Linked DNA regions of Homo sapiens: region 1 is linked to region 2. Evidence: promoter capture Hi-C in 16 types of primary human blood cells and fetal thymus (Javierre and others, 2016). All regions are on one chromosome and are shown on one strand. Each heading gives the region's core, a stretch centred on a gene start or on the middle of the fragment in contact. The rest is flanking DNA. Distances are from core to core; before and after follow the strand shown.

The links. Contacts are between HindIII fragments. The CHiCAGO score rates a contact against its expected background, and 5 or more counts as called.
Region 1: a fragment that was not itself captured here is called in contact with the fragment with the promoter of FZD4 in region 2 in 1 of 17 cell types (erythroblasts); the score reaches 5.7 in erythroblasts.

Annotation. Positions count from the first base shown.
Region 1 is chr11:87,191,858-87,194,557 of GRCh38, reverse strand. The region is part of intron 5 of TMEM135 (transmembrane protein 135); the gene reads right to left. Among named protein-coding and RNA genes, the nearest start is that of TMEM135, 160 kb to the right of the region's middle. The HindIII fragment of the contact is 938 bases long and covers 961-1,898 here.
Region 2 is chr11:86,953,978-86,956,677 of GRCh38, reverse strand. It overlaps FZD4 (frizzled class receptor 4), which reads left to right and starts at 1,283. Exons shown (of 2, transcript NM_012193.4): 1 at 1,283-1,877. The coding sequence starts at 1,593. It overlaps FZD4-DT (FZD4 divergent transcript), which reads right to left and starts at 1,057. Exons shown (of 3, transcript NR_038905.1): 1 at 966-1,057. RefSeq lists silencers at 556-705, 1,056-1,425, 1,556-1,605. The HindIII fragment of the contact is 4,830 bases long and covers 1-2,700 here.

The DNA of each region.
Region 1 (2,700 bases), core at 180-2,679, 240 kb before region 2:
CAAATACACAACACACACACACATACACAGGTATTATTATTCTTTAAGAAGGTGGAACTATAAAATGTAGAATAAACTATACTGTACAAGTAAATAGTAGTAAAGATCTGACACAGGATAGTACAAGAGAATTTCAAAAGTCTTTGCCCACTAAACGATTTGAGATTTTTTCATTTGCAGAATAGTATACAGTTAGCTGGACTAAAATACTGCAAACTTTAGCATAAGTAAGAGTGCTTTTTAAGTTCAACCACAGCTGCCAGTTGTCTTGTGGAGGTATTTTGTTGATTTTAAGAATACGTGCAAGAAACAGCAGCTTTCCCAGCACTTCAGTCAACAAAGATCTACATTTACCAATTTTTTTTTAACTTGTGCAGAAAATATGTTGTCTTTTGTGTGGAGCCACAGTTTCTTTTTCATTAAATGAAATGGAAGTAAAATCCATTAAAAGGCTTAAAATTCACACAGGAACAAACTCTTTTAAATGTGTTTAACTGATTCAAAACATTTTATGAAGATTTTAAAGAATAAACATGAATGTCATGAACATTACTACATTAATCTTCTCTGCTAGTAAGTGAAAAAAGCAAAGATAACAAGCCTATGGCTTACCACAAAAATTCTTTATCACAGTCCACAGCAATACTTCAATGCACACAAATTAAATAAATGTATTGTGTATCTACTGTATCCTAGCATGATCATAGGCCTATTAAAAAATTCAAAACAAGTATAATGTATGACTTCATATATACATACAAATATATATGTTTATATAATATATAATATAATATATAAGAATATATATGGTCTTTAAGTGAACAATTCAAGACTTAAATCTGAACCAACTAAAGAAAAAATTTAAAAAACCTAACTGAGTTCTTAATTCTTTATTTCTGATTACACATTGAAAAGAGAAGTCAGATATTCTTAATTACATAAGCCACAAAATCAAAAGCTTAACAATTATTCCCTGGGTACTTAGAAGAAATTAACAGTTATCCCCCCACCAAAAACAGTGATTTTCAATTCTCACTACCAAATTAAAGTAATTTCATATCTGGAGTCTCATCAATATTTAGCTCTTGGGAAAAATAAATGGGAAAATAAAACAGAAGAACCTGAAAATTTTGCAGATTACAAGGAAAATGGATAAAAATTAGCAGAGGCTAAACTAAATAACAATCTGTATCTTAATCTATATGAAAACTCTAGATTAAGTGATTTGATAAATTTGTCTTATAATTTTCAAGTATCTCCTAAATATTTCTTGAATCAGATCTCACCACCACTACACCCCCACTTAGAATCTGCTAGACACAAGCTCCTCAAGAGCAGGTACCTTGTTGTCTCCACTCCACTGCTGTGTATCACTCAGTCTTAACTTAATGATGGCCTATTATATATGATGAAAAAAGAAATGAATACACAAAAAATGACAATTTTTTTTTTTGAGATGGAGTCACCCAGGCTGGAGTGCAGTGGTGCAATCTCAGCTCACTGCAACCTTTGCCTCCCAGGTTCAAGTGATTCTCCTGCCTCAGCCTCCCAAGTAGCTTGGACTACAGGTGGGTGCCACCAGGCCTGGGTATTTTTTATATTTTTAGTAGAGACGGGGTTTTCCCATGTTGGCCAGGCTGGCCTTGAACTCCTGATCTCAAGTGATCTGCCCACCTTTGCCACTGAAAGTGCTGGAATTACAGGCGTGAGCCACCATGCCCGGCAAACCAAAATATTTATTAAAAGCAGTATACACGGCTCACCCACACATACAATCACATTCTTATAAATATGTAAACTGGTTTTATTAAAAATGAATTTGTACCAGCCTTTATAAACAGTAATAGATCTAGAAACAAAAATTCAAATTGTTTTATCAAATTACATGGAATAAAGCTTATTTCTCTTATTTATAAATAAAATAATAGCTGATATCTTCAAGTAGCACACACATTTCAAAAGAACATAGGCGGTTTTTTGAAAACTCTTACATTCACTCATATTTACCTAATTGCCTTCAAAAACAAGTTAAAACACAAACATGGGTAAAACAAGTTTACTTCTCTTTAAAGAACTGATAAACTTCTGATGTTTGCCTTTATATAACATACATAAATACGTAATTCATTTTATTCCTATTGACTTACAGCAAAAAAAAGAAACAATCTTCTGAATATAAATTTGTCTTTAAAATTTAACCTAAAAAATACTGAAATTGGTACCAGAAATGGCCTTAAGAAAGACAGACATCTACATAAATCAATTATAAAAGAAATAGAAGTGGCTCATGCCTGTAATCCCAGCACTTTGGGAGGCCAAGTTGGGCGGATCACGAAGTTAGGAGATCGACACCATCCTGGCCAACATGGTAAAACCCCGTCTCTACTAAAATACAAAAAAAAAAAAAAATTAGCTGGGCACGGTGGCACATGCCTGTAGTCCCAGCTACTCGGGAGGCTGAGGCAGGGGGATCGCTTGATCCCAGGAGGTGGAGGTTGCAGTAAGCCCAGATCGCGCCACTGCACTCCAGCCTGGAGCAAGACTCCATCTCGAAAAAAAAAAAAAAAAAAGAAAAGAAAAGAAAAGAAACAAAAGAAATAGAAAAACCAGTAATAGAGCTCTCAAAAAAATGCCCCACGTCCAGATGACTTCTCAGGAGAATGCTAGCATACTTTTTAAAAGTATAAACTCCCAATGCTA
Region 2 (2,700 bases), core at 34-2,533:
TTATCTCACTGAACTCTTAGAACAACTGTGTGAGGTGGATATGAACTTCCCCACTTTACAGCCGGCCACTTTGAGGCTCAGAGAGGCACCATAGCTTCAACACAGTCAAGCAACAAGTAAACGGTGGAGGAATCCACCTGCTGGGAGTTTACTGGCCGACTGGAAAGCAGAGAGAGGGTGGACCAGCACAAAGCCGCGGGGGGCTGGTAATGAGACAGGAAAGTTGGGTTCAAACCTGGGTCACATGATCCCCAGATCCCTAGGAGCCGAAGCAGAAGCAAAGAAAAAAAGGGGTGCAGCCTGGTGGGGAGGGGGTGCCCGGGAGGCCGGGAGAGAGGAGTCACGGTGGTTGTGCGCCTTCCTCGTCCCCAGTGCACAGGTCAAGCCTCTCCCCTCCCGCCCTCTCACCCTCCCAACCTTATTTAGAAACCGTGTCCCCGAGACAGGAAGGGCGGCGGGCCGAGAAGCACGGAGAGTCCCGGTCTCATTTCCTTTCGAATCCCCCTGTGGAATTTCATTTCATACGGTGAGGAAATCAGAGCGCGAGACCGTCGGCGGGTCTGCAGCTCCGCAGCTCTGGGGCGCCTCCCCGCTGGCGGCTGGAGGTGGGCGGCTCCCTGCGCAGGTCGGGCGAGTCTGGGGGCGGGGAGAGGCCGGGCCCCGATCGCCGCTGGTCCGGAGTGAAAATAGCTGTGGACTCACGCAGTACCAGGCACCATGCTAAGCCTTCTACACTTTATCTCTAATCCTCCCAAGTGACTTTACAGAGGAGACTGACGCCGAGGGGTTGAGCAATTTGCTCAAGGTCACACAACCGGGACTGAAAGCCACAATCGGTGTAAATCCAAATCCCCAATTCTTTGTGTACGTTTCTCTGCCTGACGGGGAGGTGGCCACCGGCCTAGGTTACAGCTGAAAGGAGACAGGAAGGAAAGGGGGCAGATGGAACAGGGCGCACTTCTCACCTGCAGAAGGGGGCAGGACGGCGTGGCTGGAGCCACTGGGCTGCGTCCCTGCTTGGCCCCTGCGCGCCTAGATCCGGGTGGGAGGAAAGCAAGAGCCGGGAGGCGGGCGGGGCGGGGCGCTAGGGGAGGGAGGGAGGGAGGGGCGGCCGGAGGAGGGGGCCGGAGGGCGGGGGCCTGACTCCTCCTGCGGGAGAGCGGCCCCGCCCCGCCGCCTCGCCCCTAGCTGCCCACCGCGCCCGGCCATTGGAGAGGCCCGCTGTCCGTCCCGCCCCGCCGCCGCGCCGCGAGCCTCCAGCGCCGCGCAGGGCTCCGGCGGTGAGAGCTGCGCAGCGCTGGCTGCTGGCTGGCCTCGCGGAGACGCCGAACGGACGCGGCCGGCGCCGGCTTGTGGGCTCGCCGCCTGCAGCCATGACCCTCGCAGCCTGTCCCTCGGCCTCGGCCCGGGACGTCTAAAATCCCACACAGTCGCGCGCAGCTGCTGGAGAGCCGGCCGCTGCCCCCTCGTCGCCGCATCACACTCCCGTCCCGGGAGCTGGGAGCAGCGCGGGCAGCCGGCGCCCCCGTGCAAACTGGGGGTGTCTGCCAGAGCAGCCCCAGCCGCTGCCGCTGCTACCCCCGATGCTGGCCATGGCCTGGCGGGGCGCAGGGCCGAGCGTCCCGGGGGCGCCCGGGGGCGTCGGTCTCAGTCTGGGGTTGCTCCTGCAGTTGCTGCTGCTCCTGGGGCCGGCGCGGGGCTTCGGGGACGAGGAAGAGCGGCGCTGCGACCCCATCCGCATCTCCATGTGCCAGAACCTCGGCTACAACGTGACCAAGATGCCCAACCTGGTTGGGCACGAGCTGCAGACGGACGCCGAGCTGCAGCTGACAACTTTCACACCGCTCATCCAGTACGGCTGCTCCAGCCAGCTGCAGGTGGGCGCCCCCACCCCCACCCCTGGCGGGACCCCTTGGGGAGGGACGCTCCAAACTAACTTTGCAGAGCCCATGCCAAGTTGATCATCCTAGCCCGAAGGAGACAGCTCTCCTGGAAAAGTGATTTCCATCCCCACCCCCACTTTCTCAGGGACTGGAAGCCAAAACGTTGTGTAAGTCATCTGGCCTGGGAAAGAACCCACTCTTACACCCCGCCCTTCCGTTTTTCTCTCTTGCCCACCCATGTCTGGCCCAGACCCCTAACCCCAGTGGAGCTGAGGGTTATCTCTGCCAAGGATTCTGGCCGCCACTGCTCGGTGGGCGAGTGGGAGGGAGCCAGCTGCAGCTAAGACTTGGAGGGAGTGATAAGGAGACCATCCTTCACCGAACTTCCTTCTCCCCACTATTTTTGGGGTGTTATTAAATGAAACACTACTGCACCTTTTTCTGCTGAATAGCCCCTTCTCACGACGTCCCGCAGCGTTTTAGAGGTCATGCATGAAGGAGTGGTTGGGTTGGCTTGAGTTCTTTCTTATCCTCACAGTTGAAGGCACGTTTAATGCTTGGAGGGTGAGAAGAAGCTGCAGGAAGGTGGTTGGTATATTGGAAGAAATTTTTTTGCAGTCATTAAAAAATGTAAAGCATATCTAATGATAGAGAAAATGTTTATTCCACAGTAATAAGAATTTGCATATACAGGGTGATTATAATCCTGCAAAATAAAAAATTTATTGGGATAATAAAAGACTGACAGGAAAATTTTTAAAGTGTTAACATTGGTTATGTTTGGGTTGGTGAGGCTGGGTGATTTTTAGAAATTTAG